Linked DNA regions of Homo sapiens: all the other regions are linked to region 1. Evidence: promoter capture Hi-C in 16 types of primary human blood cells and fetal thymus (Javierre and others, 2016). All regions are on one chromosome and are shown on one strand. The core of a region is centred on a gene start or on the middle of the fragment in contact, and the rest is flanking DNA. Distances in the headings are between cores, read along the strand shown. Region 1 holds the start of LINC00853 (long intergenic non-protein coding RNA 853). Region 2 overlaps CMPK1 (cytidine/uridine monophosphate kinase 1). Region 3 overlaps LINC01389 (long intergenic non-protein coding RNA 1389). Region 4 overlaps CMPK1 (cytidine/uridine monophosphate kinase 1).

What was found. The method cuts DNA at HindIII sites, captures the fragments that hold promoters and counts their contacts. A CHiCAGO score of 5 or more calls a contact.
Region 2: a fragment that was not itself captured here is called in contact with the fragment with the promoter of LINC00853 in region 1 in 2 of 17 cell types (megakaryocytes and erythroblasts); the score reaches 9.3 in megakaryocytes.
Region 3: a fragment that was not itself captured here is called in contact with the fragment with the promoter of LINC00853 in region 1 in 1 of 17 cell types (megakaryocytes); the score reaches 6.5 in megakaryocytes.
Region 4: a contact is called between a fragment that was not itself captured here and the fragment with the promoter of LINC00853 in region 1, in 1 of 17 cell types (megakaryocytes). The highest score is 5.3, in megakaryocytes.

The regions. Positions count from the first base shown.
Region 1 is chr1:47,177,704-47,184,892 of GRCh38, forward strand. It overlaps LINC00853 (long intergenic non-protein coding RNA 853), which reads left to right and starts at 1,547. Exons shown (of 2, transcript NR_047498.1): 1 at 1,547-1,735; 2 at 2,165-2,636. It overlaps CYP4A22-AS1 (CYP4A22 antisense RNA 1), which reads right to left and starts at 1,920. Exons shown (of 6, transcript NR_199717.1): 1 at 1,487-1,920; 2 at 422-746. PDZK1IP1 (PDZK1 interacting protein 1) reads right to left here. Exons shown (of 4, transcript NM_005764.4): 4 at 5,879-6,340. The coding sequence ends at 6,268. RefSeq lists enhancers at 1,418-1,919, 3,545-3,689 and a cis regulatory region at 3,608-3,625. The HindIII fragment of the contact is 3,617 bases long and covers 1-2,293 here.
Region 2 is chr1:47,344,656-47,351,873 of GRCh38, forward strand. All of the region lies in intron 1 of CMPK1 (cytidine/uridine monophosphate kinase 1), which reads left to right. Among named protein-coding and RNA genes, the nearest start is that of CMPK1, 14 kb to the left of the region's middle. The HindIII fragment of the contact is 850 bases long and covers 4,154-5,003 here.
Region 3 is chr1:47,398,947-47,405,503 of GRCh38, forward strand. The region is part of intron 3 of LINC01389 (long intergenic non-protein coding RNA 1389); the gene reads right to left. Among named protein-coding and RNA genes, the nearest start is that of FOXE3, 14 kb to the right of the region's middle. The HindIII fragment of the contact is 8,041 bases long and covers 1-6,557 here.
Region 4 is chr1:47,368,402-47,375,581 of GRCh38, forward strand. CMPK1 (cytidine/uridine monophosphate kinase 1) reads left to right here. Exons shown (of 6, transcript NM_016308.3): 2 at 68-214; 3 at 4,554-4,706; 4 at 6,508-6,584; 5 at 6,796-6,892. Among named protein-coding and RNA genes, the nearest start is that of CMPK1, 38 kb to the left of the region's middle. The HindIII fragment of the contact is 3,965 bases long and covers 1-3,315 here.

The DNA.
Region 1 (7,189 bases), core at 297-2,796:
CTCTCACTTAAAAGTGGGATCTTTTAAGTGAACAAAAAAGAGGGGAACAACATACAGTGGGGCCTGTTGGGGCAGGGGTGGGGAGAGCATCAGGATAAATAGCTAATGCATGCTGGGCTTAATATCTAGGTGATGGGTTGACAGTTGCAGCAAACCACCATGTTTTTACCTATGTAACAAACCTGTACATCCTGCACATGTAGCCTGGAACTTAAAATAAAATTAAATTAAAATTAAAAAGAAAACAGCACCACCACCATCAAGGAAAGCCTGTTCCCAACCTCCAATTCCAGCTCACTAGCTCAGCCTGTCTCATTCCCCTTTTTCTCTCTCCCCTCTCCTCCCTGCCCCTTTCCTCACTTTGCCCCCACCTGTCCTCACCATCCCACCCCATACCTCCAAGCTCACAGCTAGAACTGACCAAAGGCCCAGTTATTTATTTACAAAGTCCATGTCCAGAACTGTACCAGCCTCAGCGGTGTGGAATAAACTGGTGTGGCCAGGTCCATTGTGCTGATGCCTCAAGAGATCCAGGCTGGTACAGATGGGTCTGGCACATTCTGTACCTGCCAGCCAAGCAGAGCATCCAGCTTACTTCTCACTCGACTCCTTACATAACGCTCGTCGGGTACTCTCCATTCCTTGGGCTTAAATTCCATAGTGTAATATTAGTAAACCAGGCTAAATGATCCTAAGGATCTTGCTAGCTCTGACGCACCGTGATCTTGCATCCAATTCAGTTCACTCTGTAATAAATAATCATAATAACAATAGTAATTTTCCAAATAGCTAACAGTTATTGTGTACTGTATGCTAAGCACTATTCTATGTATTTCATGTGAATGTTTAACATTCATAACACCACTTATCATGTAGACATCATTTACTGCCCTAATTTACAGTGAACTGGAGCTCCGAGAGTCACGTTGATTTAACCACAGTCCCAGGCTACCAAGTGTCCAAGCTGTGCTGCTTCCAAGCTGCCTGACCCAGACCTGAGCTCTTAACCTCTCAATGGGCATCCAGGTCGAAAGCAGAATCTCTGGCTCAAGTGCCGACTGCCCAGCTGTTTCAGAACTCCACCATGCACCCAACTGCTCCTCCAGGACTTCCCTACGGATGTGTTGCAGGCTCTGAAACGTCACACATCCACGCCGCATCCTCATCCCACACATGCTCCTGCTTGTCCCTGGCATCTGCCATTCTCAGTGCCATTCACTAGCCTATATGATGCCTTCGAATCAGAGGAAGTTACCTCTCCCTCCAGGGATACGGGCCCACACCTGGTCTCAGGGACCCTTTAGTGGAGGCACAGTCTATATAGCCCAGAGCAGTGCCCCTGATGCCATCGTCTTCCAATTTGCTCAGAGCAGACACTGGGATTCATCCTTAATATCTCTCTCTTCTCTCTCTCTCTCTCTCTCTCTCTCTCGCGGAGGCCCCACTGCCCTTGCATTCCACAGGAAGTCCCAGTTGCTGGCATGACCTGAGAGGTTCCTGGGACCACGCCATGGAAATGCGTCCGGTCCCAGTGTGACGGGGAAGAGCCGCGCCTGAAGCTCAACTTCCGAGGCTCTCATCAATCTACGCTTCCTTTGGAGCGTGCAGCCACCAGGTGGCAGCCGAGGCCACGGGCAGACAGAAAAGCTCCCGAAACTGAAGGACTGCCAGGCAGCAGAGTTCCGGAGGGCTCCCAGGACCTTCAACCAGAAAGAGACAGAGCATATGCGCATATGTATGTCTGAGCCCGTGCACGGAGGAGGAGTATGAACAGACACCGCGGGACAGATGGCTGGAGTTTAGTCCCTTCCTTCGGGGCTCTTCACCACTCCTTGGGCTTCCCTTCTCCTGTCCAGCCCTGTCCTGGGTGCACAGAGAGGGAAGTCACTCCATTCCTGCCCTTGAGGAGCTCCCAGACCCAGGGCAGGAGCAGGATGCAGACAAGTAGACAGCACCCTGGGGTGGGTGGAGTGAGTGGGGCAGGTGGGGCGGGTGCAAAGAGAGGGAGGAGCAGGGGCTGAAGTTGCCCGGAGGAAGTGCTGAACCCAGGAGTGGGGAAAGGAGCATCTGGGAAGAAATGGCATCTACGCTGATCATGGAGGGCTTTCTGGCAAGTCTCAGGAGCAATAATAACACGGATGTCATCTCTGTTTCCTCCCAGCAGCCCTGCAAGGAATGTACTATAGAGCCAATTTTACCGGCAAAGGAATGGAAGATCTGAAAGGCTAGGCGATCCCACAAGCATCGAGGAGCAGGCTGGAATTTGAACCAATCGGCATGATTCCCAAGCTCAAGCTTTTGGCCACCCCTGCACTGCCAGGGACAAAAAAAAAAAAAAAAAAAAACCCTGGGAGGAGAGCCAAGCTAGGGAGTCAAGACCCTCCAGCCAGGTCTGGATGGGAGGCAGGTGCCTCCACCCTGGTCCCAGAGCAAGTTCTGCTGGCTTCAGCCACCTGACTTCCCTGTGAAGGTGGGTAGAGGCCAGAGCAGACTGTGTGTGATTCTGGCCCCAGCCCCAGCACCTCTACCCCCACCTTTACTACCCCTAGGCTGCGGGAAGAGGCTTTGCCCAGCAATAGTCCTGATCTAATGGATCCTTGAAGCACAATAAACAGATAGTATTTCTGCATGTGTCACTCTGAGTATGACGGCAGTAATCTTGAAACTCCCCTTGACCACCTGGCACTCTGGAGACGGAACTCCACAGCCTGTTTTCAAAGCCAACTCCTGGCTGGAAGTTCCTCTTCAAGTCTAAATGAAGTAAGCAGTGCTGCAGTCTTCCCTCAACTGTGCAGTTGCTGGGTGGAGGCTTTTCTTTTCTGCCTGAGTTTGGGTATAACCTATAATGTAACCCTATGAAACTTACATGTTTTAGGTGGGAGAGGGGAAAACAAGGTGCAAGCCCTGTTCCAGGAAGAGCAAAAATGTCCTCAACAGTAAGAGGACATTCTGGGCTGAGAGCCAGGGCTTGAGGCAGCCTGCAATCCTGGCAGATAGCTGGTGGAAGGGACCACAGAGAGATGATACCACACACAGAAGTGAGACCAATGAGATCGTGGGAACTGCCCGGCCAAGGGTTGACATCAAGGAAGCTTAGGAGGCAGGGGACAGCTGGGAAGGGGACAACCAAGAGAACCAGCTGGAAACTGAAAAGGGATGCAAGAGAGAAAGAGGAGGTGGGCACTGAGCTCAGGTGGAGGAGGAGAAAGGCAAACAGGAGAGAGAGAGGCAGAGGATGAGACAAAAACAGAGGTGGAGAGACTGAGAAACAGGGAGACAGAGATGGATGGAGGCTGGGAGAGACAAAGAGGAGACAGGCCTGGGCAGGAGAGGTCCTACGTGGGGAGAAAAGGTTGGGAAGAGAGCAGGAAAGAGAGAAGGAGCACAGGTGTCTGGAGGTTCCCACCAGGCCCAGCCCACCCCTCCTGCAGGCTGGGTCTCTCCCTTGTCTGCCAATCACGAAGCTCAGGATCCCCTCCCTCAGGGCTGGGGGTGGAGAGCTCGCCTCCAGCCCCGCCCTAGTCCAGAGGCTCCCCCTCCCCAGGCCCTGGGAGGCTGCCCCTGGGACTGGCTGTGCAGCGATAGATGGTGGGGGCCCAGCTGGTGCGTTATCAGCCTTCTCCAGGAGCGCGCCTGAGCCACTCCGTGGCTGCCAGTCTGAGATTAGGCCCCCGGAGGGTCATTAAGCGCCACCCTGGCCCGGGCCCAGCCTCCTTTCCCTCCCCGATCTGGCCAGGCTGGCAGGTGGGAATGAGCGATAAGGATTGGGGGTCTCAGCAGTTCTGGGGCCAGCAGCTCCCTGCTCCCAGCACTCCCCTCTGGATCAGGGCAGGAACATGGGGTGAGGGTGAAGGGCTGTAAGGTCAGTGCCGGCCCAGCCCCTGCAGGAGCCCCTAGGGTTCCCACTCTCCTAGATCTGCCCATATTGAGCAAGACAGAATGAGAAGGGGGCCAAGGAGGCTCTTGGAGAGGCCTCAGACAGCTGCTGGGGAGCAAGGTGAGCCCAGGCAGAAGCAGGCTTCTCCTGGCAAAACCTCACAGGTGTGAGGGGCTGGGATTCACTTGCTGCAGGGAGACAGGGATGGTGGCTCTGCCTTCTGGCCCTGGCAGGCTGGTGGAGTGACCTGACTCGAACCCACTCCCACCCCCCAGGGACAACTGAGGGCAGAGCTGGGAGGAAATGTGGCCTCGTGCAAGGAGAATCGGATCCGGCAGTCAGAAGCTTCCCACCAGGAGACAGGAAAGGAAGAGGGGACTGTTTGTGCCTTAGCAGAGGCCTGACCCTCTAGGAACCTCTGTCTCTCCTTCAGTGAGTGGAGAAGCTGGGCTGGCTGCTGGCCTGGCTTTGCCCTCTGGTCTAATCAAGGAAGACTTCCCAGAAGAGGAGGAACCTTGGTTGGGTCAAGAAAAAACAATGCGCAGAGTTTAAACTGGCAGAGGTGGGGTGAAAAGGCATGAGTCACAGGCAGCCACGTAAGCAAAAGCCTAGAGTAGAAATCACAAGCCACAGTTCATTAAGCCGAAGCCCAGAGAGGGGAGGTGACTTGTCTCAAGACACGCAGAAAAGCAAGGATAGGCCTGGAGCAAAGCCGCTGCTCCCCGACCCACAGGCCTCTTCCCTCTGCTGCAGGCTGCATCCTAAACCCAATGAGGTGAGAAGAGATGATTCCCATTTAAGATGAGTCTTCCCCAGTGGTACTTGGTGAAGCCTTGGAATAGCAAAACAATGGCCATAACATAAAGCAAGGGGGCTGTGACAGGTTGAGACAAGTGGCAGAGGGAGACCTTTGGGACAAGGTGGATGGCCTCCTACCTTCTGGCCCCACTTCTCTGGATCTGGGAATTATCCTGGATGAGTCTCTCAGGTTATCACCCTGGACAGAGACAGAAGCTGTTCGCATAAGGCCAACAGTCACAGAGGTGAGGGGCCTCCAGGTTCAGCCAGCCAGGCAAGGCATGCCTCCCCTCTCCCCTGCTCCTACTAGGACCCAGTTTCCTGATCCTCCCTTCCCAACCCTGACTCCCACCCCAGGACTGGGCATTGGGAGGGCAGGCATAGGCAAGGACTGGGCTCTCCTCCAGCTCTGCCGTGAGACTGGCCAAATCTTCCACGGAGAGAAAGCTCAGCTCAGAGAGGACAACAGCTTTCCCAAGTTCACACACAAGTTGCCAGAGGACCCAGGACTCAGATCTGGGCTTCCTGAGTCTCAACCCAAGACTGCTTCCTGACACTTCCTATGCCAAAGCCCAGCACGGAGGGGCTACTGGAGGGAGACAGAGCTAGATCTGTGTGAACCCACTGTGACACCTCCAGCACAGAGGCAGAGGGTGAGCGGCGCTGAGCAAGGAAAAGCCCAGAGTCTCAGGGATGAAGGATGTTTGGGGGCGGGGATTTCCAAGAGGGGCGCTACCTGGAGCAAGGGTAGAGTGGGTGAGCTCTCTGGCCCATGGGCCTCTGACATCCTCTTCCTTCCCTACATACAGGAAACTGATCAGCACTAGGGGAACCTAGCTCATATTAGGGTCTGCTCTGCCCTGCCCTGGGAAGCCTTGCCTGGCTGCTCTGGTTGAAGAAAGGGTTTGGCCTGAGGGGACAAAAACCAGCCCATTGGCAGAAATGGGCTCACCTGTCCTGGTCTCCCTGCCTCCCAGTTCTCCCAGGTGTCATCAGACACTCCCATTTGAGGGTGCTTCACTCTCAAACACCAGAAAGGCACCAACCCTCTCTTACCCTCACCCTGGCCACACACTCTCAGCCCCTCCCCAGCCTGGGCCCCCTCGGTCCCAGCTGCCCTGTGGGCACAGGGGCTTCCTGCATAATCCCCCAAAGCCACTACAACAGAGTCGGAAGGTGACTGTCATGATTCAGAAAGCAAGATGGGGACTCACTGGAAGCCTGAGGGGCTGTTGCTGAGCCTCAGCCCCAGAAATACAAAAAGTCTTTATTTCACAGAAATTAGGGCCATTTCCATAGTTATGGGGAAGGACGTGTGAGCAGGATGGGAGGTGCTCAGCTGACTGTCCTCTCCAGAAGGCTCTTCTGAGCTGAGCAGGAGACCCCAGGGCCACAGCCGAGCCCCAACCTAGACACGGTCTGAGCTCCAACCTTGGCTGGCTATACTTCAAGGGCGGGTAGGGCCGGCATGGGGCTGGAGGGAGTCAGCCCACTATTGCAGATTCCACACAAAGAAGGAGGGGGCTTGGGTGGTAGCACTGGACATCCATCCCATGTGCCTGGGAGTCTTGGGGTTGGAGCCACAGAGAAGGTTACATCGGGGTGCTGCGGACCTTGCCTTCCTCCTCGGGCACATTCTCATAGGCATTCTCATGCTCACTGGACCTGAAAGAAGAAGGCATGGGCCTGATGGGTCATCGCTCCTCCCATTCTATCCCCTTCTCCCTGCCCCTTCCTGCACTTGTGACAGTAATAGCTTCCAGAATAAACACTTGACTCCCAGAAGGGGATTGTCCTGACCACATCTGGGCTTATGCATCCGAGACTGGAGGCCTCTCAGCATCCCCTCCCTGACACCTATCTCCCTCCTCCTGTGGACTGCTGCACCACTGGGTCCTACTGAGCCCATCCCCCACCGAGCCCATCCCCCACTGACACCATGCTCCACTAAACCCATCCCCCACTGAGCTCCATCCCCAACTGAGTCCATCCCCACTGAACCAATTCCCCCATTAAACCCATCCCCCACTGAGTCCATACCCTGCTGAGTCCATCCCCCACTGAGCCCATGCCCCACTGAGGCTGAGTCCATCCCCCACTGAACCCATCCCCCACTGAACCCATCCCCCACTGAATCCATCCCCCACTGAGCTCCATCCCCCACTGAGCTCCATCCCCCACTGAGTCCATACCCCACTGAGTCCATACCCCACTGAGTCCACACCCCAGTGAACCCATCCCCCACTGAGTCCATACCCCAGTGAACCCATCCCCCACTGAGCTGCATCCTCTACTGAGCCTTCCCCTCACTGAGTCCCTCACTCATTTGTTCCTTCCTCCATTGAACCCTTTGTCCCCATTGTACCCACTGCCCTATGAGTCCCCTCCCCTACGCTGAACCCTACCCTACCAAGTCTCCGTCCCCTTCTGCAGCCCTCGCCCCACACAGGGGCTGCATTTTCCCCACAGAGCCCTGCAATCCTCACAAAGCCCCCATTGCCTCACTAGCTTTTG
Region 2 (7,218 bases), core at 3,329-5,828, 170 kb after region 1:
ACCTGGCTAATTTTTGTATTTTTAGTAGAGATGGGGTTTTACCATGTTGGCCAGGCTGGTCTCGAACTCCTGACCTCAGGTGATCTGCCTGCCTCACCTTCCACAGTGCTGGGATTACAGGTGTGAACCACCATGCCCGGCCTAACTGTAAATTATTTCAAAATTGTTTATCTTTTAGTTTTGCCTCCCTAACTAGAGTGTAATGTCTTTAAGGGTGGGGACCCTGTCTTTTCCCTCTCATTTCACTACACGTTTTTCATTTATTTATTTATTTATTTTTACAAGGACTCTGGCTCTGTTGCTCAGGCTGGAGTGCAGTGGTGCGATATTGGCACATTGCAACCTTTGCCTCCTGGGTTCACGCGATTCTCCTGCCTCAGCCTCCTGAGTAGCTGGGATTACAAGCGTGCACCACCATGCCCGGCTAATTTATTATATTTTTAGCAGAGATGGGGTTTCACCATGTTGCTCAGGCTGGTCTCAAACTCCTGACCTCAGGTGATCCGCCTGCTTCAGCCTCCCAAAGTGCTGGGATTACAGGCGTGAGCCACCACGCCTGGCCTTCATTCTACTACATGGTTTTTGAAATGCCTTAGTCATCCTTCAGATCTTAGCTTAAAGACTCTCAAACGTTCTCAGTTTATGATGCCCTTAGTGTCTCAGTTTTTTTTTTTCATAGAAACTCTAGTGCAAAAGAAATACCTAACAGCTATATTAAGTAAGTAATTAGGTCTAAACAATACTTAAGAAGTATTTTCTAACAAGTTAGTAGCTGTTTGAAGAAATGATACATAGAAATTAGGATAAAAAATTAGGAGAAAAAAAGTAGCAATTTAATTTCTTTTTTTTTTTTTTTGAGACAGAGTCTCACTCTGTTGCCCAGGCTGGAGTGCAGTGGCACGATCTTGGCTCACTGCAAGCTCCACCTCCTGGGTTCACACCGTTCTCCTGCCTCAGCCTCCTAAGTAGCTGGGACTACAGGTGCCCACCACCACGCCCGGCTAATTTTTTGTATTTTTAGTCAATCTCCTGACCTCGTGATCCCCCCACCTCGGCCTCCCAAAGTGCTGGGATTATAGGCATGAGCCACTGCACCTGGCCTTTTTTTTTTTCTTTTGAGATGGAGTTTCCCTCTTGTTGTCCAGGCTGGAGTGCAATGGCTTGATCTTGGCTCACTGCAACCTCCACCTCCCAGGTTCAAGCAATTCTCCTGCCTCAGCCTCCTAAGCAGTTGGGATTACAGGCATGTGCCACCATGCCCAGCTAATTTTGTATTTTTGGTAGAGATGGGGATTCACCATGTTGGTTGGACTCCTGACCTCAGGTGATCCACCCACCTTGGCCTACTAAAGTGCTGGGATTAGAGGTGTGAGCCACAATGCCTGGCCTTTTTTTTGTTTTGTTTTGTTTTTGAGACAGAGTCTCACTCTGTCACCCAGGCTGGAGTGCAGTGGCTCCATCTTGGCTCACTGCAACCTCTGCCTCCCGGGTTCAAGAGATTCTCCTGCCTCAGCCTCCTGAGTAGCTGGGACTACAGGTGCCCGCCACCACGCCCGGCTAATTTTTGTTTTGTTAGTAGAGACGGGGTTTTACCATGTTGGCCAGGCTGGTCTCGAACTCATGACCTCGTGATCCGCCAGCCTCAGCCTCCCAAAGTGCTGGCCTCCCAAAGTGGCTCCCAGGCATGAGCTACTGCGCCCAGCCTAATTTCATTCTTAAGTAACCACACTTACTAATGAAATGTATATGCCTGTTGTGTACTGTTTCTCATACGCTGGAATCATATTGGACACTTCCACCTGCATTTCTTATTAATTTTATCTCCCTGTCTCTTTTCTTTCTCTCTCTCTTTTTTTTTTCTTTTTTGAGTCGGAGTTTCACTCTGGCGCCCAGGCTTGAGTGCAATGGTGCGATCTCAACTCACTGCAACCTCGGCCTCCTGGGTTCAAGCAATTGTCCTGCCTCATCCTCCCAAGTAACTGGCACTACAGGTGTGCGCCACCATGCCTGGCTACTTTTTATATTTTTAGTAGAGACGGGGTTTCACCATGTTGGCCAGGCTGGTCTCGAACCTCAGACCTCAGGTGATTGCCTGCCTTGGCCTCCCAAAATGCTGGGATTACAGGCATGAGCCACCGTGCCCGGCCCGTTTGTTTGCCTTCCTCTCCCCCTCCCCATCTCTCCTCCTCACTCCTCTCCCCTCTCCTCCCCTTCCCTTCCCTTCCCCAAGTGATTCTCCTGCCTTAGCCTCCCAAATAACTGGGATTACAGGCGCCCGCCACCATACCCGGCTAATTTTTGTATTTTTAGTAGAGACGGGTTTCACCGCGTTGGCCAGGCTGGTCTTGAACTCCTAACCTCAGATGATCCACCCGCCTCGGCCTCCCAAAGTCTTGGGATTATAGGCATGAGCCATTGTGCCCGGCCTATTTTATTTTTTTATTTTCTTTCTTTCCCTTCCTCCTTCTGTTCCTCCTTTCTTCCCTCCTTCCCTCCCTCCCTCCCTTTCTTCCTTCCTTTCTTCTTTCCTTCCTTCCTTCTTTCCTTTTTTCCTTCCTTCTATTCATTCATTCTCTCATTCATTCACTTTGTTGCCCAGGCTGGAGTGCAGTGGCACAATCATAGCTCATTGCAGCCTCCAACTCCTGGACTCAGGCCATCCTCCCACCTCAGCCTCATGAGTAGCTGGGACTACAGGCACATCACACCATACCTCTCTAATGTTTAAAATTCTTGTAGAGAGAGGTTTCATTATGTTGCCCAGGCTGGTCTTGAACTCCTGGCCTCAAGCCATCCTCCTGCCTCGGCCTCCCCAAATGCCGAGATTACGGGCATGAGCTGCTGTGCCTGTCCCACATTAATTTTCATGTGATACTTGTTTTTATCACAGCAATAGCCCATAAAATCAGCCTCACAAAGATATGATGTAATTGAAAGGAATGTGCCATGATCTTTTTGTTGTTGTTGTTTTTGGTTTTTGTTGTTGTTGAGACAGAGTGTCACTCTGTCATCCAGGCTGGAGTGCAGTGGTGCAATCTCAGCTCACTGCAACCTGTGTCTCCCAGGTTCAAGCGAATCTCCTGCCTCAGCCTCCCGAGTAGCTAGGACTACAGGCATGCGCCGTTACCATGCCTGGCTAATTTTTGTTTATTATTAGTAGAGACGGCATTTCACCATGTTGGCCAGGGTGGTCTCGAGCATCTGACTTCAAGTGATCTGCCTGTCTCAGTCTCCCACAGTGCTGGGATTACAGGTGTGAGCCATCGTGCCCGGTCCATGATCTTAAGTTGAAAATTAACTATCTTGTGTTCACTTAGTGTCACATTGACTATTGCTGTGTTTCCTTTAAAAAATTAAACCCAGGGCACTATTGTGAATTTGCTGTACCACATTCCAGTTTAGATGCTAATGCAAAAGGATTGTAATCACTGAAGACCTCCAAAAGTCACGTAGGAGTACAGTATTTTAACGGGTAGCTTTCTGAATTGAAATCCAGAGGATTAGAGAAATCAATCTAGTAGTGGGACTTTTTGTCCAGGTAAGAGAGAGAAAGGATGGGGACTCTGCTGGGAGTATAGAGACAGCACATATATTTTGATGTCTTATTTTTTTGTTTCATGTTGGCCTAGTCACACTGATTCTTACTACCTTAAAGCTAATACTTTTAGCCCAATTGCCATATGAAAATGTGTTTGCTCTTACATTTTAGTTGCTTTAATCTGACAAATTAAGAACATTTTTACAGACTAAACATGTGATAAGAGCATTTAGAACTTTAATAGGGAACAGGTGTGACAGACATACTGTTTGCTGACAGTTTTATGCTGCCTGGTGCGTAAAGTTAACAAACCATCACTTTGGTAAAGGAAAAAGCACCAGTTGTTACTTACTAGTCTCAGAGGCCTTCACTTTGAGGGACTGGGTCCTATGAAACATGTTCTTCCATGCCTGGTTTCCATCAGTCTTCTCCAGAAGACCCATAAGCTGGTTCCATTCCCCGTTGGAATGTATCCTATGTCAACAAGCAATTGAATATGCCTAATTTGGGGCTACACAAAAGTCTGTTTCCATACCCACTTTGTGTTTGGAGCTTCCAGAATGTGTTAGTCATTGATTGGTATTGGAAAATGTTACATGTTTAATTTAACCCACAAGCTTTACCTGTATAATTATGTATGATTTAGTTAGGTAATAACATGAATTTTCATTTTCTTGGTGCCTACTGGGAGTATAGAGACAGCAAAGATGTTTTGATTGTATAATTGGGTGTTGACTTAATGGTTAATTTAGGTTTTCAAATAGAGTTTTTCCTTGCTATGTATCATTTGAAGGGCAAGGGAAGTGAAAAGTGGAAATGGTAATGTTTCAGAAGTGGGGAAAGGCAAGGAGGAAGCAAAGGAAGCAAGAAGGATGGTCAGAATCAGGCTGAATCAAGGTGGGTCAAATATGCCTAGCTTTCTGTGTGTGGATAAAGTTTCTGATCTCATCTGCAAGCCAGGACATAACAAAATGATCAACTTTGAGTTTCTTCTTTAACTCCCACCAGTAGATTCTGTTATTCAATGGCCATAGTAGCTTGAAGACGAAAGACTGCATCTCCATATGGGTCACCTAGGAATTACCTCAGAGGCCTGTTGTGGAATAATAGAGTTATTGAGAGTGAGGAGACCTGGATTCAAGTGCCAGATTTCTTTCCAGTAACTGGCAAGTCAGCTTATCTCAATTTCCCCTTTTGTAAAACGAAGCGTATAGAGGAGTAGATGGTCTTACCAGCTCCAAAACAGATCTGTACCTCAAAACTTCTGTGTTAGATAGCATATAACCCAATATAGTCACACCCAAAAGGCAAAATATCCAGTTACTATGAATATGTGTGCCTTCTTTGCTATTCTGTAGCGTACGAGTTGGAGCACCAAGGAATTATGTTTAATAAATTCCTTTATTTCATGTTCATCTAGAACTTCACAGTGGTAACATTGCACCTATAAAGTTGAGAAAAGGAAAGCTTTTTGAAATGTAACAGTTGCTTGTGTGTATTTTTAATTAAAAAATTTTAAGAAATGTGCTATTAGGGCCAACTTTCTAAATGTTCTTGTTTGTTTGTTTGTTTGTTTGTTTTGGAGACAGGGTCTTGTTCTGTTGCCCAACTTTCTAATTTTTCTTTTTTTGAGACAGGGTCTCGCTCTGTTGACCAGGCTGGAGTGCAGTGGCGCAATCTCGGCTCACTGCAATCTCCGCCTCCCGGTTCAAGTGATTCTCCTGTCTCAGCTTCCTAAGTAGCTGGGATTACAGGCACGCGCCACCACGCCCAGCTAATTTTTTGTATTTTTAGTATAGATGGAGTTTCGCCATGTTGGCCAGGCTGGTCTAAAACTCCTGACCTCAAGTGATCCGCCCACCTCGGCCTCCCAAAGTGCTGGGATTATAGGCATGAGCCATCTTGCTCAGCCTTATTATTATTTATATAGAAACAGGGTCTCACTGTCTTGCCCGGGATGGTCTCGAACTACTGGGTTCAAACAGTCTGCCTGCCTCAGCCTCCCAAAGTGCTGGAATTACAGGTGTGAGCCACCATGCTCCACCTACTGTTTTTTTTTCTTGAGACAGGACCTTGCGCTGTCACCAGGCTGGAGTGCAGTGACATGATCATGGCTCATTGAAGCCTCTACTTTTCGGGCTCAGGTGATTCTCCCACCTCAGCCTACAGGCACAAGCTTGTAGTCCCAGCTACTTGGGGCCAATTTATGGGTTGAGGTTGGGGAGGGGGTGTTGTTTTGGTAGAGGTGGGGTTTCACCATGTTACCTAGGCTGGTCTTGAACTCTTGGGCTCAAGTGATCTGCCTGTCTTAGCCTCTCAAAGTGCTGAGATTACAGGCATGAGCCACTGTGCCCAGCTATTTTGGTTGCTCTTATTTAAAGTAGAGTGTGCGTACATTATAGAAAAATTGGAAAATACAGGCCAGGTGCCGTGGCTTATGCCCGTAATCCCAGCACTTTGGGAGGCTGAGGTGGGCGAATCACGAGGTCAGGAGTTCGAGACCAGCCTGATCAACATGGTGAAACACCGTCTCTACTAAAAATGCAAAAAAAGAAAAGAAAAAATTAGCCAGGCGTGGTGGCACGCACCTGTAATCCTAGCTACTCAGGAGGCTGAGGCAGGAGAATTGCCTGAACCCGGGAGGGCAGAGGTTGCATTGAGCCGAGATCACGCCACTGCACTCCAGCCTGGGCGACAAAGTGAGACTGTCTCAAAAAAAAAAAAAGAAAAGAAAAATTGGAAAATACAGATCCCCCACCCTTCCCTAGCTCCTGGTAAGTTCTAATCTACTGTCTCTACGAGTTTGCCTATTTTAGGTACCTCATATAAGTAGAATTATATGATACTTGTCATTTTGTGTCTGGCTTATTTTACTTAACATAATTTTTGTTTGTTTGTTTGTTTGTTTGTGACGGAGTCTCGCTTTGTTGCCCAGGGTGGAGTTCAGTGGCACGATCTCAGCTCACTGCAACCTCCGCCTCCCAGATTCAATGATTCTGCCTCAGCCTCCCAAGTAGCTGGGACTACAAGCACATGCCACCACGCCTGGCTAAATTTTTGTATTTTTATTAGAGATGGGGTTTCACTGTGTTAGCCAGGGTGGTCTCGATCTCCTGACCTTGTGATCCACCTGCCTCGAGCTCCCAAAGTGCTGGGATTACAGGTGTGAGCCACTGCGCCTGGCCCATAATGTTTTTAAGCTTCCTCCATGTTAGCATGTATCAGAACTTCCTTTTTATGGCTCAATAATGTTCCATTATATGTATGCAGCACATTGTGCTTAGTCATTCATCTGTTGATGGACACTTAGGTTGTTTCCACCTTTGGTTACTGTGAATAATACTGCAGTGATTGGTGTTCAAGTATCTGTTTGAGTCTGTTTTCAGTTCTTTGGGGTATATACATAGAAATGGAATTGCTGAGTCACATGGTAATTTTGTGTTTAACTTGTTAAGGAACCACTAAACTATTTTCCACAGGAGCTGCACCATTTTACATATCCACCAGCAGTATACAAAGGTTCCAGTTTCTCCACATCTTCACCAATGTTTATTTTTTTTGTTTTTGTTGTTGTTTTTAAAATTATAGCCATTCTAGTAGGTGTGAAGGGTTTTTTGTTTTTTTTTCTCCTCAGAATAGTGCATTTAAAAAATTGTCTTTGGCCGGGTGTAATGGCTTAC
Region 3 (6,557 bases), core at 1,441-3,940, 220 kb after region 1:
TGGCTGCTTCAGCTCCAAGCATCATTTCTTTTTTTTTCTTTCTTTCTTTTTTTTTTTTTTTTTTGAGACAGAGTCTCACTCTGTTGCCCAGGCTGGAGTGCAGTGGCACAATCTCAGCTCACTGCAACCTCCGCCTCCCAGGTTCAAGTGATTCTCCTATCTCAGCTTCCCGAGTAGCTGGGACTATAGGCACCTGCCACCACACCCGGCTAATTTTGTATTTTTAGTAGAGATGGGGTTTCACCATGTTGATCAGGCTGGTCTTGAACGCCTGACCTCAGGTGATGCACCCACCTCGGCCTCCCAAAGTGCTGGGATTACAAGCATAAGCCACTGCACCTGGCCTCCAAGCATCACTTCAAACAACCATATCTAAAAGCAGAAGTGAGTACAGAGCAAAGGCTTTCTCCTTGAGTGACTTTAAGAGGGAGGAAAATCTTAACCCAGAAGTCCCCCAGTATTATCTCTGCATATCTCATTGGCCAGAATTGGGTTGTACCCTCTCCTAACCAAGAGAAATGGGCAAAGGAAAAGGAAGAGGGAAATGATTGTTGGGTGGACAACCAACAGTGTCTGCCATACTTGTTGATGTGGTGGCTCTAGGAGAAAAAAGAGTTAGGTGAGAAAATGATCCAAGGCTCAAGAAGGAGCCTTCCCTACTTCCAGAAGCAAAGCTGCCTCAGTGGCAACAAGTCTATTGAAAGCTCCTTCTTTAGATAGACAGCATGGTGTGCTGACTAGAGTTCTGCTCTGGGAGGCAGAACCTGGCTCTAGTGTGGTATAATATTGCTGAGTCAGTTTCGCATTCTGTGCCTCAGTTTCCTCATCTGCACAATGAAAGGATTCCTTCTAATTCATTCAGGTTAGGAGAAGCCAGGGCAGAAGGGAGGTGCTGGATGCTTAGCTTGTGTGTAGGCAGTGAATGGTCCAAGTCAAGCTCAGCAGAGCCTGCCTCTAGCCACAGATGCTAGGATTTGCCAAACAAACCCTAATCACTTAATGAGAAATGAAAATGGTGGCTGATTCCTCCACTTAATTACCCCTTTGAAAACAACACACAGGAGATTTACAGTAATCACCATAATCGCCTCATAAAAACCCGAGAGTTTGAAGACGGACACGCCTCATTTCTGGGAGGAATTAGAGGCAAAAATCAAGGCAGGGAATTTCTGGTCTGCCTTGGCCTTGGCTCCCTGTAATCCAGAACTCTGGCCACAGAGTGCCCGCTACCCTGGATAGCCTCCCGGTCCCAGCCAAATATTGTTCCTAATGCTCCACAGCCAAGGTGTCCTTGCAGGCCTGCTTCCTGGGTCTCCTCTGTCATGTACCAAGAAGACTCACAACTCTGAAGGTCAGGTGGAGGTCCTTTAGCAGGAGACAGAAACATCTCTGAGTCCTATCACTTACAAAATCTGAGGTAAAAGACTGGAGGGGAGGTTGGGGGACACAGGCTATTCCTAGCTGTAGAAAGCCATAGCTTATAGGTTTTCCTGAGGCCATCCTGTCCTGACTTGTACATCTTCCATGACGAGGAGTTTAGATCTCCTGGGACATTTACTGAGATACAAGGACAGCTAGAAGATTCACGCTCTGCTCAGCAGAAATCTGTCCTCTTTCAGCTCCTTAAAACTAGACTCAGATCACTGGGCATCAAGGTTATAAGTGTCCTCTGGGTTTATCTTCCCTCCATAGCAATTTCTTTCTTTCTTTCCTGTCACTCTCCTACGTGCAATTCATTCATTTATTCAAAACTATTAAATACCTAATGTGCATCAGAGACTATCAATTATATTTTTTTCCATTTTTTAAAAGAGATGGGGTCTCACTCTGTCACCGAGGCTGAGTGCAGTGGCATGATCATAGTTCACTGCAGCCTTGAACCCCTAGGCTCAAGCGATCCTCCTGCCTCAGTCTCTCATGCCCAGCTAATTTTTAAATTCTTTGTAGAGATGGGGTTTCACTATGTTGCCCAGGCTGTTCCTAAGCTCAAGCACTTCTCCAGCATCAGCCTCCCAAAGTGCTGGGATTACAGGCGTGAGCCACTGTACCCAGCTTGACTATCAATTCTTAACACAGTAGGCAGAATGATCCTTTGAAAACCTAAACCAGATCATGTTACTCCTCTGTCACTCTCCAGTGCCTTCCCAAATCAGAGTAAAGGCATAACCCTTACAGTGCTCCGCAGGACTCTCATGTCCTGCCCTTCGCTCACTCTGCTCAAGCCACACGGGTCTCCTTGCTGTTCCTGGAAAACACCAGATCCTCTCCCGCCTCCACACCTTAGTACTATCCCACTGTATTCCCACTGCCTGGAATGCTTTTTGTGTGTATCTACATGGCTCCCTCTCTAACCTCTTCCAAAGCCCTTTCTGACTTTCCTACATAAAATTGGACCCCCTCCTTCTCTAGTATACTCTCCTACTTTATTTCTGTCCATATTGCTTATGACCATCCAAAACAATACACTGCAAAATTTGCTTATTTATCTTGCTTAATGTCTATTTCTCTCTTCTAGGGGTCAAACTCCAGAGGGCAGGGATTTTCTGTCGTCTCTCTCTCTGTTGTATCCCAAACACCTAGTACAATGTCTGTCACATAGTGGGCAATAAATGTTTGTTCAGTGAATGAACTAATGAGGATAGAGCAATGAAAAATATAAAGCCCACGCCCTCAAGGAACTTGTGGTCTGACAGTAGAAGCAGACATCAGACAGTCACCCACAGGACTGAGCAACTGAATGATGCATGTTGATAAATGCTAGGTAGGGAAGTAGCAGGTGTAATGACAGTGGTCTGACTGTAGCCAGGAACACTGTTGTGAGTTACTCTGAAGAGCTGCTTGTGAGAGGATTGGAGTTTAGGGTGATGAGGGTTTGGAGCCACAAAGCTCTGGGAGGAAAAGATGCTGGAGAAGCTCAGATTGTGACTTCTAGGCCCTTTAAAGGTGATGGGACTCCAGGCAGAGGGCAACCATCTGCAAACGGGGTCAAGTGCCCACTGTGCCATGTTCAAGATATGTGCTCTGGAGCAAGCCACCTTGGCGCTGGAGTACTTGCTTCCTTATCTCTAAGATAAAGAAGCGATAACTAGCTCCTAGGCTGGTTGGGAGGTACAAGTGAAATGTTTGTCAGAGCTGGAACCTGCAGATATTCAATAAGTGCCAGCTCATTTTCTGCTCCCTTCTTCTTCGTCAAACCTTTTAACATCCAGCCTCCTTTTACCTGGCCACTCCGTTCTCTCTCCTGGCCCTGTGTAAGCATGAAGAGCTGTATGAGAAAGGGAAGCATCTAATCATCCTAAATGTACAACTGCAGGTTAACAAAGGTTAACAGGATCTTTAAGGGGCATAATTTGACAGATTAGACTGATCTCTACTGTGCCCCAGGACGCTTGGCTTTGTTGCAATTAACTAAATCTCCCATCAGCCTCCAGGCCTGATGCCTGTTGGCATATAAGACCATGCCACTAGAATGAAGAGTTGGAGCAGGGGGTGGCAGACACAGCTAGGCCCTGTGGTTCTGCCCATGGCCTCCCTCTGGGGGAAGCCCTCCTTGACTACAACCTAGAGAGAGCTCCTGCACATACCCATACATACACATACACACATGTAACACACATGCAGAGCCACACACAGCTCCCAACTCCACCCCCCACCATGGGAGGATGGACTCCCGGCTCCTCAAATCTTTCTCTCTTTACTTATTGATAGGTGGGGTAGGAGGTTGATAAGGAGGCAGCAAGTATATTACTTTTTCCCATGGTTAGCATGGACAGTGGACACACTCAGGCATTGAGCAAATTTTCACCTATGCAGGGGCCAGCCCTAGCTTTAGGCAATAGAGAAGCAGATGAATCAGATCAGAGTTCTGGCCTCAGGGCTCACATTCTAGTGGGGGAAACAGGTACGTGCACAGGTAATTATAATATAAACTACGCGATAGTGGGAACCTGAAAGAAGAGAGCTTATTTTCCCTTTGGGCTAGGGCAAGGCTTTAGGGATTAGGCAGACTTTGATCTGGGCTGAGGTAGGATGGAAGGGCTCCTAGGCAGATAGAACTGCATGAAGAAAGGCACAAAGGTGGGATAGTGTGGTACAAGTTCAGGAAATGGCAAAGCCTCTGATGTCAGGGTCAGGCTAGAGCATATGGTGGGGACATAACTGCTTTCACTGTAATGATTTGGTTTGTAACCACCCCTGGGACACCCCTCCATGAGTTAATGCCTCCCAGTCCCTCCCTATACACACTTGACACCTTGGATGGCTTTGACCAGAAGAACTCTTTCTTGTTTACTGCTTCACCTCCCTGCCTGGCCGCACATTCAGCTCCTTCAAGTCAGCCTCCCTTGCATCACCTCAAGGACACAGCGGTCCTGCTTGCTACAGAGAAGCCTTCCCAACCACTCTGGCCCACACTGGCCTCCTCATCTGATCATCTCAGATGGCTGAAGTACCGATATGGTTTCACACAACAGCACCCTTTCTAGTAAAGGTACTTTGCTACATGCTATCTTAGGATGCTATTTTCATAAGAAATCCACTAGAATCAATTCAGACAAAGAAAGGGGAAGTGATTACAAGGGAACTGGAAGTCTAAAGGAACCAAACACATAAAAGGACTTGGCCCAGACTTGGGAAAGCTCTCAGGAGCCCAGGAAATGGGAGTTTCTCCCTGCCTCTGTGCTCTTTTCTCTTCCCGGACTGACCTTCTCCACCAATCAGATCACATGGAGGAAAACATGACTGCTGACAGCACCTGACAGGTCCAGCCATGTAAAAACAATCTCCAAATTCCCAAGAGAGGAGGCGACTGGTGTAACGGAACCACATGTCCAACCCTGGCCCAATCAGCTTTGGGTAGTGGCATGGGGTCACATAAAACAAACATGGCTGCTAGGCTACACCTCTGGGGGTCATTTCTCATAGTCATGTGGATTGGTGAGTGGGCTGTTCTGAAAGAAGGGAAATAGGAGCAGAGCAGATATCCCAAAGATGCCCATTACACACGTATAATATAGTGTGACAAAATGCTCATACGACTTCTAATTCCTAGACTATCCTACTGACCTACTCTGCGACTTCAGGCAAGTCTCTACCATCTTGGGGCTGCAGTTTCTTCATCTGTACACAGAGGAGGATGGGACTAAGTGTCCTGTTGGGTTCCATAACTCTCCAGGACTTTGGCCCAATTACTTACCGCCTCTGAACTTCAGTTTTCTCATCTGTAAAATGGGAGTAATGATATCTAACTCACAGAGTTATTGTAAGACAATGGGTATGAAAATATCTAACATGGGTTGAGTACAGAGTTATTCAAGAAATGCTGGTGACCCTAGTAGATTTAAATTGGGTGGCTGTCCCGCTCACAGTGGTTTCCCCAAGGGTCATAGCTATGATTCCCACGTGTTTGGGAGAATTGCTCCTCCTCTAGTTGGGAGCTGCCATACTCCACAGTGTTTTGTCAAGGGGTGAGCATGGGTCCACATTGGGCCACTCAGAATCCTTCTCTGGGGCCTTGTTTCAACCGCAGCTCTTGTATCTTCATTTGCAGAACTCTAAGGAGAGGGGCTTGTTACTGCCAACAGCCAGACCCCAACCTTGTAAAGAAAGTGGCCTCTGAGAGTGAAGATGACATGAAGAGGACTTTCAAACACTGGGTTTCACACATTTTGAAGTCCAGTTTCATCCTTGCCCTGATTTATGAGCCAATACATTTCCTCACTACATTTTTCTTTTCTTTCTTTTTCTTTTCTTTTTTTCTTTTTTTTTTTTTTTTGAGACGGAGTTTTGCTCTGTCACCCAGGCTGGAGTGCAACGGCACGATCTTGGCTCACCGCAACCTCCGCCTCCTGGGTTCAAGCGATTCTCCTGCCTCAGCCTCCTGAGTAGCTGGGATTACAGGTGCATGCCGCCACGCTCGGCTAATTTTGTATTTTTAGTACAGATGGGGTTTCTCCATGTTGGTCAGGCTAGTCTTGAACTCCTGACCTCAGGTGATCCGCCCACCTTCGCCTCCCAAAGTGCTGGGATTACAGGTGTGAGCCACTGTGCCCGGCCAACATTTTTCTTAAGTTAGTTTGAGTTGGTATTCTGTCAATTCCTTCCTGATGATACCTTCTCCCTTTCTCTAAGCCTCGGTTTCCTTAGCTGTAAGATGATGGGGTCCCATCCTGTCCTCTTTCATCTCTGACACTTTATTACCGTATTTGTTCATTTATTCATTCAGTCAATTAGTCAATCAGTTACTTGGCATTTACTGTGCATGTTATTCTGTCCCTGGCCCTATGCTGGACACTGGCAATCTTGCTAGAGAAACAATCACTTCTCCAGTTCTCAAGACTCATATAGTTAGGTTGGGGAGAAAGGTAAGAAAGGATTCAGTACCGTGGGTGATGATGGCTGTGACAGAGAGAAGCACAGGCACTGTGGGGAAATCAGAGGACTTATCCCTGCTTGGAAGGCTTCCTGGAGAAGATGGCTGAGTTTTTCAGACAGGGGTGAGCACAGAGAGAAAAGGAAAGGTATTACAAGCGGAAGAACCTACCTTTGTAAGGGCCCAA
Region 4 (7,180 bases), core at 83-2,582, 190 kb after region 1:
AAAAAAGTATAGTCCTACCACTGGGTTGAATGAATTCTGATATTTTTCCTATGTGTGCTTCTTTCAGAAATATGGCTACACACACCTTTCTGCAGGAGAGCTGCTTCGTGATGAAAGGAAGAACCCAGATTCACAGTATGGTGAACTTATTGAAAAGTACATTAAAGAAGGAAAGATTGTACCAGTTGAGATAACCATCAGTTTATTAAAGAGGGTAAGGAGTGTGAATGCCAACCAGTTCAAACCAGCGAGGAAAGAAGAAATTAAATTCACCTTTTGGCCAGGCAGTTGCTCATGCTTGTGATCCCAGCATTTTGGGAAGCCAAAGCAAGAGGATCACTTGAGGCCAGGAATTCAAGACCAGCCTGGACAACCTAGTGAAACCCCATCTCTACAAAAAAATTTTTTAAAAAGCCATGCGTGGTGGCATATGCCTGTAGTCCCAGCTGCTTGTGAGACAGAGGCAGAAGGATTGCTTGACCCCAGAAGTTCAAGTCCAGCCTGGGAAACATAGTGAGACCTCCTCTCAAAAATAAATAAATAAACAACAATAATAATAAAAATAAATCCACCTTTCATATGTGTAATGAAAAATATCAAAGATTTTTTGTTTTGTTTTGTTTTGAGACAGTGTCTTTGTCACCCACGCTGGTGTGCAGTGTCCTGATCACAGCTTGCTGCAGCCTCAACCTTCCAGGCTTAAGCCATCTTCCCACCTCAGCCTCCTGAATAGCTGGGACTACAGGTGCATGCCACCACACCTAGCTAATTTTTTTCTATTTTTTGTGGAGACAGGGTCTCACTATGTTGTGTAGGCTAGGCTGGAACTCCTGGGCTCAAGTGATCCTCTCACCTCGGCCTCCCAAAGTGCTGGGATTACAGGAGAGAGCCACCACACCTAGCTCAGAGTATTGAATTTCTTGCTTGTGGAAGGTGGTTATGCTTGAGAATGGCAGAACTGGAAACTTTGCTTTCACCTGGGAAGAAAGCGGACAGTGGCAAGGATTCTCTGCTTTGATTTAGGATCACCTATAGCTCAACTTAACATCCATTTATGTGCACTTGGTCCTTTCTTCCCAACATTCAGACAGTTATTCTCTTCCATTTCTGTTTCATCTTTTTTCCTCCCTCTCCTGCTCCCTTTCCTTTTTTCTTTTTTGCTTGCTTTCTTTTTTTTTTGAGATAGAGTCTCGCTCTGTCGCCAGGCTGGAGTGTAGTGGCGCGATCTCGGCTCACTGCAACCTCTGCCTCCCGGGTTCAAGAGATTCTCCTGTCTCAGCCTCCCGAGTAGCTGGGACTACAGGCGTGCACCACCATGCCCAGCTAATTTTTGTATTTTTAATAGAGATAGGGTTTCACCATGTTGGCCATGATGGTCTCGATCTCTTGACCTCATGATCTGCCTGCCTCAGCCTCCCAAAGTGCTGGGATTAGAGGTGTGAGCCACCGTGCCCGGCCCCCAATTTTTTTTTTTTTAAATAAACCTCTTTCTTTCTTCTTTCTCTCTCTTTTTTTTTTTTTTTTTGGCGGGGAGACGGAGTTTCGCTCTGTCGCCCAGGCTGGAGTGCAGTGGCGTGAACTCGGCTCACTGCAAGCTCCGCCTCCTGGGTTCACGCCATTCTCCTGTCTCAGCCTTCCGAGTAGCTGGGAGTACAGGCGCCCGCCATCAAGCCTGGATAATTTTTTGTGTATTTTTTAGTAGAGACGGGGTTTCACCGTGTTAGCCAGGATGGTCTCCATCTCCTGACCTCACGATCCACCCGCTTGGGCCTCCCAAAGTGCTGGGATTACAGGCGTGAGACACCATGCCCAGCCCTTTCTCTGTTTTTTAACCCACGTCCCTCTCATCATTGATGTTCGCTCAGCCATGGTGTCTACTTTTCTGGTGTATCACCATCTTCAATGTGAAATGCTAAGACTTAAGAACTTTTAAAACTAAAATATGTCACATCTGAGGCTGGGCGCAGTGGCTCACGCCTGTAATCCCAGCACTTTGGGAGGCCGAGGCAGGGGGATCACTTGAGGTCAGGAGTTCGAGACCAGTCTGGCCAACATGGTGAAACCCCGTCTCTACCAAAAAATATAAAAAATTAGCCAAGTGTGGTGGCACACACCTGTAATCCCAGTTACTTGGGAGGCTGAGGCAGAAGAATCGCATGAACCTGGGAGGCAGAGGTTTTGGTGAGCCAAGATCATGCTACTGCACTCCAGGTTGGGTGACAGAGTGAAACTCTGTTTCTTAAAAAAAAAAAAATGTCCGGGTGTGGTGGCTCACGCCTGTAATCCCAGAACTTTAAGAGGCCAAGGTGGGTGAATTACGAGGTCAGGAGTTCAAGACCAACATGGCCAACATGGTGAAACCCCATCTCTACTAAAAATACAAAAAAAAAAAAAAAAAAATTAGTCGGCCGTGGTGGCAGGCACCTGTAATCCCAGCTGCTCGGGAGGCTGAGGCAGGAGAATTGCTTGAACCAAGGAGGCAGAGGCGGAGGTTGCAGTGAGCCAGGATCGCACCATTGTACTCCAGCCTGGGCAACAGGGTGAGATTCCGCCTCAAAAAATAAATAAATAAATAAATAAATGTCACATCTGAAAAACAGACACCCTGTATTTACTAGGTAACTCTTCATTCTAGATTCCTAGAACTATAATCATTAACAGGTATTTTCACATAGAAGAACAGTGAGGGAGAAAAAGAAATGCAATATTGGGAACAACAAGAAATGGCTGAAGCCTGATGGAAAAGAGCTATGTAAGCATCTGGTTGGAACTAAAGACATTGGGGATGAAAAGTGGCTTGTACACACATTCTTACCTCTTGTCTCAGAGGTTGGAGTAACCTGCTTCCATTCCAAAATAAACAAATCTCTCTCCCTATTCACTCTTTCTAATGTCCTTTCTCTGCTCTATAAAGCAGAGAAAGTATTATGAAAGAGCATATGGTTTTTACTTTTTCACTCTCTACTTTTCCACTCTCTACTTTTCAACCCTTTGCAGTCAGATTCTGTTTCCATCTCCATTGCAGCTGCTCTTGCATGTTACCAATGATGATCTCTATCAAATAATACTTTTGTCATTATTTTTCTTGTAGTATTTAACTTTAATCAGTCTGTTTGAAAATCATTCCTCCTTTGTTCTTTATGACAGCGTCTCTTTTTCTTCTCTCCCTACTGAGTGACTGCTATTTCTCTATCCTCTTTAATAGTTATTCTTTTGCAAGTTTCCAAAACCATGATGCTTCTCAGGGTTTTATACTTGGTCTTATTCAGCTCTCATTTCATATGTTTCTTTCTGGATGGTTTTAGCCATACCCAAAGCTTTCACTATGCTCATGCTGCTAAAGTCTATAGCTCTAAAACAAAATGTTTGTTTTGAATTCCAGACATATATTTTTAACTACCTAACTACTAGGCCTTTATTTGAATGTCTCACAAGTGTCTCAAAATCAACATGTCAGAGGCTGAGTGTATTGTCTAAAATGTGATCTTCCTTTACTTCCTGTCTTGGTTAATGGTTCTGCCATCTACCTAGCTACTCAAGGCATAAATCTGGGAATCATCCTATATTCTCCTGCCTCTTCCTCACTTTCCCAAATCCATTCAGTGAGCATATCTTTCCAGTTATTTTTCTTTTAATCCTCTTCTGTTAGTCTCTTCTCTGTCATCACCTTAGTTCACATCCTCTTTTTTCCTATTTTTTTTTTTTTTTGAGACAGAGTCTCTCACTCTGTCCGCCAGGCTGGAGTGCTGTGGCACGATCTCGGCTTACTGAAACCTCCACCTCCTGGGTTCAAGCATTTCTCTGCCTCAGCCTCCCCAGTAGCTGGGATTACAGGTGCCAGCCACCACGCCCAGCTAATTTTTGTATTTTTAGTAGAGACGGGGTTTCACCATCTTGGCCGGGCTGGTTCTTTTGTTGCCTTTGTTTTGGGGCAGCCAGTGACATTTGGGTTTAATTAGCTTCCGTTAAAAAGTATTTTATCCTACATTAATAATTAATGCTAATGGTCTTTTATATTTGTCCAAAGCTTTGTGTTGTTGGACTTGAATTATATGAATAGCAGAGTTGAGCACCTGTAGAAGTAATATACTTTCCACTATAGCAAAACGACTTGGGAAGAGCAAAGGGAATAAAGAGAGGGTCTCCAGTTGCTGGAGCAAAGATAATGGTTAATGGTTATTTTCCTCTTATTGCCGCTCTTATTGTTTATTTATAACTTTGTGAATGTGTATGTGAAAGTAACATATACTTAACTGTAGAAAATTTGGAAACCACAGAAAAAAATTGTGTGTATAAAATGAGGTGGTTTTGAGAGGGGCATATACCCATAACCACACCAACTTGAGGCAACCATCTTAATACATTGATAGATTTCCTTCTAGTCTTTTTTCTTTCTTTCTTTTTTTCTTTTCTTTTTTTTTTTTGCTATGTACCCTCCACCCTTTACTTATGGTTTAAATAATAATAATAAAACACCCATGTATACACTACCATGCTTGAGAAATTTCATTTTGTTAATGTTGTATTGAACCTAAATCTTCTTTTTCCTTTAGGAAATGGATCAGACAATGGCTGCCAATGCTCAGAAGAATAAATTCTTGATTGATGGGTTTCCAAGAAATCAAGACAACCTTCAAGGATGGAACAAGACCATGGATGGGAAGGCAGATGTATCTTTCGTTCTCTTTTTTGACTGTAATAATGAGGTAATGAAAATCTTCATCTGCCCACATAGGCTTTAAGCAACTGTTAGTCAACTATTAGAAAAAACAAAGGATTTTTTAACTTATATTTTATATTGGCAGCAGTGTTTTTTGAATTGGTAGATTGGATGGACGGAACAGCACTGTCTTGCTGTTGGAGTATTAAAAACTATTTGGCATTAGCAGCCTTGTGGAGCTAAATTTTCCTTTATTTTCAAAATAACAAGAATCAGTTTTGATTTTTAAAAAATAAGAATTGACATACATAATAATATTAGGTAATGAAGCTGAACTACTTTCTTAGGTAGACATTATTATCAAAGAGTATTTTGCCTTAGGGTGTTGTTTACTGGAAGAGAAACACGTTTCTGAGAAGTTGGGAAAACTTTCTGTTTTAAAGAAACATACAGGGCTGGGTGCGGTGGCTCACGCTTGTAATCCTAGCAGTTTGGGAAGCCAAGGTGGGCGATCACCTTATGTCAGGAGTTCAAGACCGGCCTGGCCAACATGGTGAAACCCCTTCTCTACTAAAAATACAAAAATTAGCCTGGCATGGTGGCATATGCCTGTAATCCCAGCTACTTGGGAGGCTGAGGCAGGAGAATTGCTTGAACCTGGGAGGCAGAGGTTGCAGTGAGCCAAGATGGCACCACTGCACTCCAGCCTGGGCGACAGAGCAAGACTGTCTCAAAAAAAAGAAAAAAAAAAAGAAACATACAGGATAGCCTGATTTGTCTTAAGAGTGAAATGATCTTGAAAAAAGTAAAAAAATGTACTTTTCTTTCTGGTAGTTCTAATAATGAAGCCAGACATACTTTTGAATAACTAAATACATTTCTCAGAATCATTTAATTAAAAAGCCTGAAGTAGTTAGTACCTTGAAAGAAGTTGGCTGTTCTTAGGTTGAATTGTAAATGTGCCCCTGGTGGAGAATCTTGCTGCAGCCTTTGTGTTGTTTTATTTTATTTTATTTTTTTGAGACAGAGTCTCACTCTGTTGCCCAGGCTGGAGTACAGTGGCACGATCTTAGCTCACTGCAACCTCCCAGGTTCAAGCAGTTCTCCTGCCTCAGCCTCCCAAGTAGCTGGGATTACAGGCATGTGCACCATGCCTAGTTAATTTTTGTATTTTTAGTAGAGACGGGGTTTTGCCATGTTGGCCAGGCTGGTCTCGAACTCCTGACCTCAGGTGATCCACCCGCCTTAGCCTTCCAGAGTGTTGGAATTGCAGGCCTGAGCCACCATGCCTGGCCTTTTGCATTGTTTTAAAACGTAACTCTCTTCTTCCAACCCCCCAAAATATGTTTTCATTTACCCTTCAAAGTTAACTTTAGAATGTTACCACAGCTTTATAACAAGGAATGTTTATTCACAATTAACAAAGGATGCTTTATTCAAATGCAAATATGTTGACTCAAATATTTTCAAATTTATGGAATTATCAAAAAGCAGCCAAAAATGAAACAAAGTTTGAGGCATGTAATTCATACCTAATAAGTTAATAATATATCTGAGATGGAATCATACACATACAGATCTTTTTATTACAGTTTGAAAAAAAATAAGCAGGAAAAACTGAGTCATGAATGAATTCTTATTATGCTCTGTACTTATTTAACCTAGTTTATATAAATTGAACCACATGTTTACGTTTAAAAGGACTTTGCATGTTGATTAATGAATTAGACACATTGGGTTTATTGCAGGGTTTTTTTGGTCATCTCTTTAAACTCTTGTTTTCTTTGCAGGTTAAAAGAATGGCAAATTCATATCTATATTTTTAATAACTTTGTATCTCTTTTTAGATTTGTATTGAACGATGTCTTGAGAGGGGAAAGAGTAGTGGTAGGAGTGATGACAACAGAGAGAGCTTGGAAAAGAGGTACTTGGCAGTTTTTACATACAACCACTTCAATCCCAGACCTGCCTTATTTGGTACAGGAATAAAAGAGTCACATTTAAACATGTAAAATGGCTTGTTTAAGATGTTAGGTCAATCAGTCGGGGCAGATCCAGTGTTCTGTGAGCTCTCCTATAACATGTAGAAGAAAGGATAGATACCTAGAACCTTGCAATATTTACTTCTTTTGCAGAATTCAGACCTACCTTCAGTCAACAAAGCCAATTATTGACTTATATGAAGAAATGGGGAAAGTCAAGAAAATAGATGCTTCTAAATCTGTTGATGAAGTAAGTGTTCCTAGCCTGTCTTTAAAAAAATATGTCAAATAAAAATGTGATTATTTGTTTTGGGGTAAGCAGGAAAAAAAGAAATACTATCACAGATTAGTTAGTTTTTCAAGACACTGGAAGCCAGTCATGGTGGCTCATGCTTGTAATCCCAGCACAAGTGTTCAAGACCAGCCTGGGCAACATACTGGGACTCTGTCTCTTAAAAAAAAAAGAAGACACTGGGGACTAAATGAAAAATTAGGGTTTTTTTCCTTTCTGAGTAAAACCTAAAATGAGGTTTATAAC